2 separate regions of the Homo sapiens genome follow, and region 2 is linked to region 1. The links are contacts of gene promoters, found by promoter capture Hi-C in blood cells and fetal thymus (Javierre and others, 2016). All regions are on one chromosome and are shown on one strand. The core of a region is centred on a gene start or on the middle of the fragment in contact, and the rest is flanking DNA. Distances in the headings are between cores, read along the strand shown.

The links. The method cuts DNA at HindIII sites, captures the fragments that hold promoters and counts their contacts. A CHiCAGO score of 5 or more calls a contact.
Region 2: a contact is called between a fragment that was not itself captured here and the fragment with the promoter of ALDH3A1 in region 1, in 11 of 17 cell types (naive B cells, naive CD8 T cells, endothelial precursors and 8 more). The highest score is 8.6, in naive B cells.

The regions. Positions count from the first base shown.
Region 1 is chr17:19,745,884-19,752,682 of GRCh38, reverse strand. It overlaps ALDH3A1 (aldehyde dehydrogenase 3 family member A1), which reads left to right and starts at 4,385. Exons shown (of 11, transcript NM_000691.5): 1 at 4,385-4,424. RefSeq lists enhancers at 2,149-2,428, 6,709-6,799. The HindIII fragment of the contact is 17,326 bases long and covers 1,660-6,799 here.
Region 2 is chr17:19,514,835-19,521,633 of GRCh38, reverse strand. No RefSeq gene overlaps it. Among named protein-coding and RNA genes, the nearest start is that of TRW-CCA2-1, 10 kb to the right of the region's middle. RefSeq lists an enhancer at 2,089-2,808. The HindIII fragment of the contact is 1,956 bases long and covers 2,789-4,744 here.

The DNA of each region.
Region 1 (6,799 bases), core at 3,136-5,635:
TGGCTGGGCACGGTGACTGGATTACAGCTCTCTGTGGCCTTCAACTCCTGGGCTCAAGCGATCCTCCCACCTCAGCTTCCCCGAGTAGCTGGGACTGCAGGTGCGTGCCACCACGCCCAGCAGATTTTTACATTTTTTGTAGAGATAGGGTCTTGCTTGGTCACCCAGGCTGGTCTCAAACTCCTGACCTCAGGTGATCTGCCCGCCTCTTCCTCCCAAAGTGCTGGGATTACAGGTGTGAGTCACCGTGCCTGGCTGAACACTAAGTCGTATTATTTCTACCTAAATATGTGTTTGTACGCACTAAGCAAGCTCTCTTTATTCCCCCACCTCCCCACCCTTCCCAGCCCTGGTAACCACCGATCTATTCTCTATCTTCATGAGATCCACTTGTTTGGCTCCCACACATGAGGGAGAACATGTGGCATTTGTCTTCCTGAGTCATAACACTTTTAACCAACGGGGAGGTCCCTGAGACCCACTGCCTAATTTTCTCCTTTCTACTCTCTCTTTTTTTTTTGAGACAGGGTCTACCTGGTCACTCTGTCCCCCAGGCTGGAGTGCACTGGCATGATTACAGCTCACTGAAGCCTCGACCTCCTGGGCTCAAGTGATCCTCCCGCTCAGCCTCTCAAGTAGCTGGGTGCATGCCACCACGCCCAGCTAATTTTTTTTTTTTTTTTTTTTTGAGATGGAGTCTCGCTCTGCCCTCATCCAAGTTGGAGTGCAGTGGCGCAATCTTGGCTCACTGCAACCTCCACCTCCCAGGTTCAAGCGATTCTCCTGCCTCAGCCTCCCGAGTAGCTGGGATTACAGGCATGCACCACCACGGCCAGCTAATTTTTGTATTTTAGTAGAGATGGGGTTTTACCATGTTGGCCAGGCTGGTCTTGAACTCCTGAGCTCAAGTGATCTGCCCGCCTCAACCTCCCAAAGTGCTGGGATTACAGGCGTGAGCCACCGCACCCAGCCTCCTTCCTTTTTTTTATTTTTTGTAGAGATGAGTCTCTCTATGTTGCCCAGGCTCCTTCTACTCGTATAAAGAAAGTGGTTTCCCCTCCCAACAACTATATCTAATCTAAATGTTCCTTGAAATTTAAGCAAACTCGCTATTCATTCATTCATTCATTCATTCAACACTTTTTTTGCTAGCTTTGGGTGAATTTGCTGAAAATCGTCTTGCTAAATGATTGCTTTTCCATCAGAGGGATGGTTAGGTGTAGTGGGCTGCTTCCGTATCTTCAGAGGTCTCCCTTGTGCCAGGATATGGTGCTGAACAAAAGTTGAGATCTCTGCCTTTGTGGACATTCCAGTCCAAGGGGGAATAAGGAGAGACATAGTCACACAAACAAAGATATGAACGCAGGTTGTGACAGGTTCCTGGAAGTAAGGAAGGTTTTATTTGAGAGGTGAGAGAGGTCAGGGAAGCTGAGATCTGAACATGGATAAGAGTTAGTCTGGTGCAGAGTGGAAGAAAAAGTGTCCCAGGGAGCAAGAACAGCATGTGCAAAGGCCTTGTGGTAGGAAATTGCCTGGTTAAGTCAAGGAATGCCAGCAGACTGGAGTGCAGTGAGAATGGTGGGAAGTGGTGCGAAGTGAGGCTGGCAAGGCAGCCAGGAGCCAGGCCAGGCAGGGGCTCACAGGCCATGGGAGGAAGCTTCCTGACAGCAAGGGGGTGCCACCCAAGGATGTGAATCAGGGGAGAGACATGCTCAGGTCCTTATCGTCCGCATGTCTCTCTGGCAGCCACTTGGAGAAGGCAGCTGAGCCTGACTCAAGGAGAGTAGGTAGAGGGCAAGAACAGTGGCCTGGGAGAGAGAGAGTGAGTGACAGCCCAGGTGAGGATGAGGCATTGGGGATGGAGTATTAGGACTTGCAAAGATTAACTCATGCTTGCAATCCCAGCACTTTGGGAGGCTGAGGCGGGAAGATGAATTGAGCCCAGGAGTTTGAGACCAGCCTGGGCAACATAATGAGACCCATCTCTACAAAACATTTAAAAATTAGCCAGGCATGGTGGTGGGTTCCTGTAGTCACAAGGTGGGAGGATCGCTTGAGCACCGGAATTCAAAGCTGCAGTGAGCCGTGATGGCACCACTGCACTCCAGCCTGGGCAACAGAGCAACACCCTGTCTCAAAAAAAAAAAAAAAAAAAGAAAAAAGAAAATCTGAAAAGCAAGTATCTGCAAGTTTCTAGCACAACCCACACTCCCACACTTTTGCCACTACTGAAACTATAACCAAAACCCAAACACGCAAACAAGGATTTTGTTCTTCGTAGATTTGAACTGCTTTTAGGCTCCTTGCTCTGACGCTTCCACCACTACTGCTGCCACTTTTGATGACACCCACACCACCTAACCTTTCCAGGATGCCCTCGGCCCGCCAGGCACTGTTCTGGTCACTTCGTGTACTCAATGCTGTGTTGCTGGCTTTTGCTAGTTGCTTCCATGGTTCTCCCAGGGGAGGGCCGCTGCCACAAGAAGTCAGCTCCGAATGGCCTTCGGCCTTGCATTCTGCCCTCTACTCAAGATCCAAATTCCCAGGAGAGTCAGGGAGGCCTCATGGGGAGCCCACCCCAACCCATGGCTGGCCTGGAGAAGGCACCTGGTTGATCATCTCACCAAGTAGGAAGGGGTTGCCTGCAAAGATAATCAGCTGCTGCCACCAGAAAAGGGGAGAGGCTGGCACAGGCTCGGTCTTCTCCCCTCTCAGGAGGCACCCCACTTTGCACCTACCACCCAGTCCAGCCCCTGCACAGGTGCGAGGTCCTGCAGATGCTTCTTTCTGCTGTTTCTGGAATGTTTCCCATTCTGTTAGTCTTATTTGGGGGTCTCGTCATTTCTTGCCTGCATTGCTGGAAGCTGCAGCCTTTGGGCTAGACCTTTCTCACACTGTGCCCTGTCCAGGGGGTTCTCTAAAACAAAAAATAGCAGACATTTGTCTGTCTGATAATCTCCTCAGCGCCCTGCACCCCCACAGCCAGCCTGGCCCACAGGCCTCCGTGAGCCCCCGCCCCAGGAGAGTCATTCACCTCCACACCTCCTGCTGGCAACAGTGGACACATCGCACTTTTTCGTGACATAACGTTCCCAGCCTCTGTGCCTTTGCTTCTGCTCTTCCAGCCCCCTTGCTGTTCCTTGCCCAAATGCTTCTCACTCAGCTCAGATGATGTTCCCTCCCACGGACTCTCACCCCAGCCCCTCTAGCATCCTCTGCCTACCTGGTTACTACAGTGTTCACATTATTTTGAAATTTCCTGTTTATTTTGTCAGTCAATAAATATTTATTGAGCATCTACTATAAATGCTGTATGGAGGTTACAGCAGTGAACAAATCAAATTCTAGCTGTCAGGAGTTAAGGGACAGGTAGCAAACAAGATATAAACGCTCCAGAGAAAAAATAATGGAGGAAGACGACAGCATTGTGCTATTTTCCACAGCACATTGGAGCGTAGCCGTGTGGGTGGATGTAGGGGAAGGGGGCTCCAGGTGGAGAGAAGCAGGAGGGCCAGAGCACATCCTCAGGACTCGTAGGCCAGGACCGGAACCTTGTGTTTTCCTCGAATGAAATGGGAAGCAGGGACCCCATGCTGGTAAGCAGTCTGCCTGCAGGCGGGTGAGGGTGGCGGGAAGCGCCTGGTGAGAGGGGCCGAGAGTCTGTTCCACACCTGCCTCCTCCCCACAGCGTGGTGCAGAGCAGGAGCCCAGCGAACATTGATCAGACAGCGTGGGAACGGCTTTTCCAGACTCCTTCCTTCCCAAGCATCTCTGGTTTTCGGTGACCACACAGACCCTTGGCCCTCTTCTCAGCTATTCAACGAGAGAGCAGATTTATGGATTGGAGACCCCCATCAAAAGTCCCCAGCCTGTGGCTCCCCAGGGTTAGGATCTCTGACTCAATGGGGCCCTGTGCACACTGGGGGATGTGAAGGGCCCGGGGCAGCGGTGGCTGGGGGTGCGTTTCGGGGGAGCTGCATGCTCTCACTGTGGTTCGTGGCTGAGCCCTGCCGATCTTATGTAACCAGAGAACTCAGAGAACCGCATCTGGCAGCGGCAAGTCTGGAAAGCTGGAAGAGCTCCATGCCAGGCTGAATCAATCAGCAGCCCCCACGCCCAGGGCAAACATAGGCTCTTTTGAAGATTGGAGATGTGCCCTGCCCAAGCCTTCAGAAACATTCTCGCATTTCAGAAGTGAACAAAAGCAAACAGCCCGGGACCTAATCCCCAAAACCTGGGCTGTAGGGAGCAGAGGTCCAGAGGACGCCACACCCCACATTTGAATATTTTTTTTTCTTGTCACGCAAACTTCCTGGGCAGGAACTCCAAGGGCTCAATGGACGGGAAGCAGGGTCCTTAAATACGTCCCCTCTTGGCTCTTGCCGTTCCAGGAGCCCCAGTTACCGGGAGAGGCTGTGTCAAAGGTAATCCTCTTCCCTGCATTCCTTATTTTTTCTCTTGTCTAGGTGGAGTCTGCACTCAGAGCCGGGGCCCTAAGTGTCAAGAGTCCTACATCATCTCTCCAGGGGGTCCCTGCCTCTGGGACCATCATCTCTGGAGCATCCTCCTGGACCTCTGGCAGCTCTGCCATCCCCCAAACCAGGAGGCAGAGGTCCCAGGGATCCGCGGAGCAGGGACACCAAGGTGGCCGTGGAGTGAGAGGCCCTGATGGGCCGTCAGACTCCATGACTGGAAGGAAGGCAGCAGAGCCGAGTGCTAAAGGCATGAGCTGCTGACAGAGATGCATGTGGGTTCAAACCCTGACATGCCACCTGCTAACTGTGAGATCAGATACAGCATTAAACGTTTCTCAGTCTCCCTTTCCTCATCTGTAAAATGCACTCATAACCGTTTCTTCTTCATGGGCATCACTACAGAGCTTTTGTGAGGATGGAAGGCAATGAGGAGGGGAGGAGGTGTCACTGGGGGGCAAAGTCAACACTGGCACAGGTGAGAGGAGCGGGGTGCAGGAATGTGGGGTGTGAGGCGACGGGCTCTGGGGAGGCCCCCAGTGCATGCTGCAGCAGCTCCCATTTGGGTGCAGCTGCGACGTGATGGTGTCCACTCATCTCTGTGAAGTGGCACCTTTGTTAACCTGTCTCTCGGGGAAGTCCTGGGAAGGCCGTCCAGCCCAGAGACCACAGTTCCAAGTGGCGATGCTGGGGTGCAAGGCCAATCCCGTCCCACGCTCACCAGGCTCTTCCCACCTGGGCTGCCTGCCTTGGTTTGACCGTACAAGGCTCGGGAGAGAAGCGGGACCTTCTCTCCTGGGTTGTGGTCAGCAGGAGGGGCCTGGCCCATGGGACTGAGGAGGTCCCAGTGAGGGGGCTTTCCCAGCCTCCTATCAGAACATAGGGAGGGACCATGGAAGGGCCAGGCTTAGAGCACCCTCAATGCCAGCAGGTCCCTCCTCCCTGTGCAGAAAGCCTGGGATTAGGGGTCAGCCTATGGGGAGGGGAGGCAGAGGAAGGATTGGAAGCCACTCGCTGGAATGTAGGCAGGACCATATATCTATATACAATATAATTATATATTACATATGATATATAGGGTTTTTTAAAAAAATGGAAATACCCTATTTCTGCTGATGTTAAAAGTTATGCCGGGTCTGCAAGTGGGCTGAGTATCTCAGGAAGGGGAGTAAGGAACTGGTAACAGTGGCCCCTCTGTGGGGCAGCACCTGACAGCTGATGGAGCAGGGAGGAGGGAGGCAGACTTTTTTCTGTGCCCCTTTGCTATATTTTACATTTTGTTTCATGAGCATGTAGTGCCTATCTTAAAACGCACCAAAATTTAAAAAATACAAGCTCATTGCAAAAAGTCAAACATTGCATAAGAGGAAAACAGATCATCAATAATTCCACCCCCATCAGTTGTCTCATCGTGTCGGGGGCTACCGTTCTAGTCCTTTCTTGCATGTTAGAGCGTGCACGCCCACACACACACGCACACGCGCGCACACACACGCACATGCACACACACGCACGCACACACACACGCACATGCACACACACGCACACACACACATGCACACACACGCACACGCACACACACACACGCACACACACACATGCACACGCCTGGTACATCTGTTGTTCTGTAACTTGTTTTCTGTTTTTCTTTCTTTCTTTCTTTCTTTTTCTTTTTTTAGATGGAGTCTCGCTGAAAGTAATTATATTACTTACCCGAGGCCTTCAAATACCGCTTCCACTGACAGCCTCTTGACTTCTAGCAAATCTCACTAACCTTGCCTTACCTCCTACCACTAATCTAATAGGAGAACTCTGTGATTATGGCTCCATTCTCCCGGTCAAAGTGCTGGAGTGCAATGGCCCAATCTCGGCCCACTGCAACCTCCTCCTCTCAGCTTGGTTCAAGCAATTCTCCTGCCTCAGCCTCCCAAGTAGCTGGGACTACAGGTGCCTGCCACCACTCCCAGATAATTTTTGTATTTTTAGTAGAGACAGGGTTTCACCATGTTGGCCAGGCTGGTTTTGAACTTCTGACCTCAGGTGACCCGCCCACCTCAGCCTCCCAAAGTGTTTGCTAGGATTATAGGCGTGAGCCACCGCGCCCGGCCTGTAACCTGTTTTCTTTCTTATCCCCAGTGCCTGAGACACCCCTGGTGCAGAGAGAGCCCCTACAAACATGCTGAATAGCCTGCTCCACCTAATCCCTAAATACTGCACAGTAAACCCTTACGTGGGTGTGACAGGAGTCATTTAAACTGTCTCCTTTCTTTCGGATCTTTGGGATGTTTACAATACTTCCCTGTTATAGAAAACAGTGATGACTTTCT
Region 2 (6,799 bases), core at 2,517-5,016, 230 kb after region 1:
CACTGCAACCTTCGCCTTCCGGTTTCAAGCGATTCTCCTGCCTCAGCCTCTCAAGTAGCTGGGATTACAGGAATGCGTCACCATACTCAGCTAAGTTTTTGTATTTAGTAGAAACGGGGTTTCACCGTGTTGGTCAGACTGGTCTTGAACTCCTGACCTCAGGAAATCCACCCGCCTCAGCCTCCCAAAGTGCTGGGATTACAGGTGTGAGCCACTGCGCCGGCCAACAACACGCTTTTGAGTAACACATGGGCCAAAGAAGAAATCCCAAGAAAAGTTTTAAAACATGTTGGTCATGAATTTAAATCTTATGAAAATGAAAATACAAACTATCAGAATTTGTGGGATGCAGAATTAAAAAATAGTGCTTAGGGGGATATTTCTAGCATTGACTGCATCTATGAGAAAAGAGAAAGATCTAAAATCAATCATCTAAGCTTCTACCATAGGAAACAAGAAAAAGAAGAGCAAATTAAATCCAAAGCAAACAAAAGAAAAGAAAAAAAGAAATTAGAGCAGAAGCCAATAGAATTGGAAATAGGAAATCAATAGAGAAAAACCAACAAAACCAAAAGCTGGTTCTTTGAAAAGAAAAATCATTGTGGTTCTGTGAGCACAGAATAGGAGCAGAATGGGTGTAAAGCAGGCAACCAAGAGTGAGCGTCTGACATGTATGCTCAGCAGAAGTCCATATCCTTGTCCAAGATGTCAAAGAAATCTCTTGATACATCTCTGGGCTTGAAGCACTGCCCTACAAGGTGCCCCCATGTACACCCCGACAGAGGACGCCCCTCCGCCCCACCCAGCTCACACCTAGTCATATGCAGATGTAAGACCCTGAGATTTTAAGCCCAAATGGGCAAAACATGTGGCCACATCTTTTTTATGACTTTTTGTTCAAAACATGTGGCCACATTTTAAGGGGGCCTGCCCCTCCACACCCCTGGGTACTTCTCGCAAGGTGGAGACAAGAGAGTGGGAAAAGAAATAAGACACAGAGACAAAATATAGAGGAAGAAAAGTGGGCCCAGGGGACCAGCGCTCAGCAAGTGAGGACCTGCACCAGTACTGGTTTTTGAATTCCCTCAGTATTTATTGATCACTATCTCTACCATCTCGGCGAGGGGGATGTGGCAAGACTATAGGGTAATTGTGGGGAGAGGGTCAGCAGGAAAACATGTGAGCAAAGGACTCTGTGTCAAAAATAAGTTTAAGGAAAGGTGCTGTGCCTGGATGTGCACATACGCCAGATTTATGTTTGACTTTACACATCTCAGTGCAGTAAAGAACAGTATTGCCGCCAGCATGTCTCACCTCCAGCCGTAAGGCAGTTTTCTCCTATCTCAGTAAATAGAATGTACGATCAGGTTTTACACCAAGACGTTCCATTCCCAGGGACGAGCAGTAGACAGATGCCTTCCTCTTATCTCAACCGCATAGAGGCCTTCCTCTTATCTCAACCGCATAGAGGCCTTCCTCTTTCACTAATCCTCCTCAGCACAGACCCTTTACGGGTGTCGGGCTGGGGGACGGTCAGGTCTTTCCCTTCCCACGAGGCCATATCTCAGGCTGTCTCAGTGGGGGGAAACCTGGACAACACCCAGGGTTTCTTGGGCAGAGGTCCCTGCGGCCTTCCGCAGTGCACTGTGTACTCGAGACTGGAGAATGGTGATGACTTTTACCAAGCATACTGCCTGCAAACACATTTTTACCAAAGCACATCCTGCACAGCCCTAAATCCCTTAAACCTTGAGTCAATACAGCACATGTTATCTGCCAGCACAGGGCTGGGGCTAGGTCTACAGATTAACAGCATCTCAAAGCAGAAGAATTTTTCTTAGTACAGATCAAAATAGAGTTTCTTATGTCTTCCTTTTTCTAATAGATACAATAACAGTCTGATTTCTCTTTATTTCCCCCACAACATCTTTTATGACTCAGCCCAACAATCTCCAGGCAGTGCCCAAGGTTAATGCCTAGGCCAATTGCTGCTGCAATCTGGGCTCAGGATGTGCAGACCAGAGATAGCCAAGGGTGTCTGATAACTCTAAGGGCTTGGTCGTGCTCAACCAGGATGGAGCTCAAGCCCCCAGACTGGCCAGGAGCTCAGTTGACTCAGCACTGCTCTTGAGTGCAGGTCAGAATGGGACTAGTGTTGGATTTTGGAGGTTAAAATAAAATACTCCAGGTCTTGACAGAGATGACTTAGCTGAAGTCATTCTGTTCCCCATCAAACATGACCCCTGGACTCAAGAAACAGGCAGCATCATGGGATGGGAGGCTGAGCCCTGGAGTTGGAGACCAGCCTGGGCAACATAGTAAGACCTCATCTCTACAAAAAAATTTAAGAATTAGCCAGGCATGGTGTCATGAGCCTCTAGTCCCAGCTACTCAGGAGGCTGAGGTAGGAGGATTGCTTGAGCTCGGGAGGTCAAGGCAGCAACAAGCCATGATTGTGCCACTGCAATCCAGCCTGGGCAACAGAGTGAGACCCTGTCTCAATAAATAAATAAATAAGGGCCAAGCATGGTGGCTCAGCCTGTAATCCCAGCACTTTGGGAGGCCGAGGTGGCAGATCACCTGACGTAGGTGTCAGGCCTCTGAGCCTAAGCTAAGCCATCATAACCCCTGTGCCCTGCGTGTATACATCCAGATGGCCTGAAGCAACTGAAGAGCCACAAAAGAAGTGAAAATAGCCTTAACTGATGACATTCCACCATTGTGATTTGTTTCTGCCCCACCCTAACTGATCAATGTACTTTGTAATCTCCCCCACTCTTAAGAAGCTTCTTTATAATTCTCCCCACCCTTGAGAATGTACTTTGTGAGATCCACCTCCTGCCCACGAAACATTGCTCCTAACTCTACCGCCTATCCCAAAACTTATAAGAACTAATGATAATCCCACCGCCCTTTGCTGACTCTCTTTTCGGACTCAGCCCTCCTGCACCCAGGTGAAGTAAACAGTCTTGTTGCTCACACAAAGCCTGTTTGGTGGTCTCGTCACATGGATGCATGAGACAGTAGGGAGTTCGAGACCAGCCTGACCAACATGAAGAAACCCCATCTCTACTAAAAATACAAAATTAGCTGGGCATAGTGGCACATGCCTGTAATCCCAGCTACTCGGGAGGCTGAGGCAGGATAATCACTTGAACCCGGGAGGAGGAGGTTGCGGTGAGCCGAGATCACACCATTGCACTCTAGCCTGGGCAACAAGAGCGAAACTCCATCTCAATCAATCAATCAATCAATCAATAAAATAAAAAGTAGGAGAACATCCTGTCCGCCATCTTTCCAGTCCAGAAAGCTCTGTGCAACTACAAAGGCCACTTGGAGTCATCTGAGGGACTATGTTTGTAAGAAGTACAAGGACTCTCAGATTGTAAGCCATCTTTGGAGAAGAGTGTTTGCTTGGTCATGCCTGTGAGGGGCCACTGTGGACCAAGTGTGACACCAGACCAGAAGTAATATCAAAGACCTTGGAGGGAACCATCTTCCAGGAACCTGGGTGTCATCTGATCACTGAGGGAGAATGCCCAGAAGCACTTTTTGTCCTATAGCTCCATTTGAATCTGTCCCCAAGATATTAATAACAATGACAACTATAATAATGTAATACCATTGTCCATTACCTACTATTTGATGTAATGACATTTCCTTCTTGTAATATCATTAACAGCTGCCATATTCTAGGGCTGGGCTGAGTGTTTTCAGCCATTACCTCATAATCCTGACAAGGATCCTAGAGGGGGTTATTACTTGCTTTCTTCAGATGGGTGAATTGCAGTTCAAATGGTTTAAGTAACTTGCCTGGAGCTGAATGGCTAATCAGTGGCAGATAGGGGACTGGAAATTACTTCTGCCTGATTCCAGAAACAGAGTGGGAACAAAAGGTCATCATTTAACAACAGATAATCAAAAGACAGGAATATCCAACTCCATACACAGCTCATCACTCATTCAGCAAATGCACTGGGAGCACCTGCTGTCCCCAGAAATAAAACATTCAGAATGAATAAATTCCATATTTTCAGATGTGAGGAGTCAGAAATGAAAAGTAATGTCTCTAAACTGTCAGGATATGCCTAATTCCTAGAGTCAACAAAATGTCTAAATTCCCAATCATTCTGGTGGTTTGGTTCGTCAACTAAGGTACTTCAAATCAGTTTAATTCGGAACAGTTGGGCAGAATCTTTTCGGCCGCAACGTGCATGAGAATCACCTGGAAACCTTGTTCAGGTGCTGATTCAGAGTCTGGGGTAGGTCTGGGTGGGGTCTGAGAGTCTGCAGCTACTCCCAGGCCTCCTCTGCTGCGGGTCTGAGGCCCACCTTCTAAGCAGCAAGGCTGTAGAGAGTTATCACGAGAGTGTCAAAGCTGGAGGCCTCTCCAGCTTGCATTGGACACATGGGGTCACTGGGCCTCAGAGGAAAATGGGACTTGCCCAAGGTCACACAGGAATTTAGGGCAAGAGCTGGCCCCAGAAGTCCTGGCCCTCAGAGCAATGGAAGTATAAAGACAGCCCTGTTCAGCATCACCACAAGAATAACCCCCAGTTTTGAACACCTAACTGCCAGGCCCTATAACACATTCTCATTTGATTCTCACCAAAAAGAAAAAAAAAATCACAATGGGCATTATTATCTCTTATTCTTATTTCTTCATAGGTGAGAAAACTAAGGCTTATGTAAAAGCAACTGGTCAAACCAGGATTTAAATGTAAATATGTCTAACTTTAAAGCTTGTTCTTTCTGCTAAGGCACATACATTTCATCCCATTTCAAAATGTCTAAGACCAGACAATCATGGGCGGTCTTCAACAAGTAGGGGACTTAAGTTGCATTCAAGTACAAACTATCTCTATTTTTTTTTTTTTTTTTTTTTTTGGTTCAGGATCTCACTCTATCACCCAGGCTGGGGTGCAGTGGTGCGATCATCACTCACTGTAGACTCGATCTCTTGGGTTCAAGCGATCCTCCCGTCTCAGTCTCCCAAGTAGCTGGAACTTAGACTCCCGACTAATTATTTATTTATTTATTTTTGGTAGAGACTGGGTCTCATTATGTTGATAGACTGGTCTTGAACTCCTGGGTTCAAGCAATCCTCCCTCCTCAGCCTTCTGAGTTTCTGGGATTGCACTCCGGAGCCACTAATAAAAATAAATATTATTTAAATAATAATTTTAATTAAAAAATAACTAGGCCAGGTGGGGTGGCTCACACCCATAATCTCACCCCTTTGGGAGGCTGAGGCTGGAGGATCACTTGAAGCCAGTAGTCCGTACCAGCCTGGCCAACATAGTGAGACCCCATTGCTACAAAAAAATACAAAAATTAGTCAGGTGTGGACATGCTGGTAGCCCCAGACAGACAGGAGGCTGAGGCATCAGGATTCCTTGAGCCCAGGAGTTCAAGGTCCCAGTGAGCTCTGACGGCACCACTGCATTCCATCCTCGGTAACAGAGAGATATCCTGTCTCAGAATAATAATAGTTGGGGGTAGCAGTCTTGCCATGTTGGCCAGGCTAGGCTTGAACTCCAGGCCTCAAGCGATCCCTCCACCTTGGCCTTCCTAAGGCATTGGGATTATAGGCGTGAGCCACTGTATCCAGCCCCTAAAAGTGGAGTTTAAAGAGCTATAAATTATTTCAGTGTCTTATTGCAAAGTAAGGCAATTAAATAGACTATAGACATATGTAACACTTAAAATAGAAACACTTTAACCCAAGTTAAAACATTTAAAACAGGCCGGGAGTGGTGGCTCAAGCCCAGCACTTTGAGAGGCCGAGCCAGGCAGATCTCCTGAGGTCAGGAATTTGAGACTAGCCTGGGCAACATGGCAAAACTCCGTCTCTACTAAAAAATACAAAAATTAGCGTGGCGGTGGGCGCCTGTAATCCTAGCTCCTCGGGAGGTTAAGGCAGGAGAGTCGCTTGAACCTGAGAGGCAGAGGTTGCAGTGAGCCAAGATGGTGCCACTGCATTCCAGCCTGGGTGAGAGAGCGCAACTATGTCTCAAAAAAAATTTTTTTTTTTAAACAGAAAAACTACCTACTCACGGGTGTTCTGTTATTCCTTGTCAAAAAGTAACAAAGCTATTTGGGAAAATTGCGTTTTTCTTTTTCTTTTTTAAAATGTCTACTCCTCCCTTTGCACAGATTCTACCTGTGACTCGGTCTCCAGGCTTCCTTTGGGTTGACTTGGCTGAGTGACATCTGGCCCAGCACTCCGGGGCCATGCAAAGACCTTGGGGTGTGCTCCTCCCCCAGCATCTGGAATGTTATTGCTCCGTCTGCTCTGCTGTGGTCCCTCCAGTGGGCCACTGGCTCGGTCAGCTTTCCCAGTCTCTCCATAGCAGGTTTTGACCGCATCTTCAAACTGGAGTAGTCAATACTGTATGTGACAAGGGAATACTGTGTGTGACAAGGAAAGTTTTAAGGCTCATGACTGTAATCCCAGCACTTTGGGAGGCAGAGGCAGGTGGATCACCTGAGGTCAGGAGTTCAAGACCAGCCTGGCCAACATGGTGAAACCCTGTCTCTACAAAAATACAAAAATTATCTGCGCACGATGGCAGGTGCCTGTAATTCCAGCTACTCGAGAGGCTGGGGCAGAAGAATTGCTTGAACCCAGCAGGCAGAGGCTGCAGTGAGCCGAGATCATGCCACCATGCCATTGCACTCCAGCCTGGGCGACAGAGTGAGACTCCATCTCAAAGAAAAAAAAAAAGCAACTACTGTTCCAGATTCCCAAGTTTCTGGTTAAAACTGCCTTCTCCTTTCTCTTCTCAGTGTATTTGTC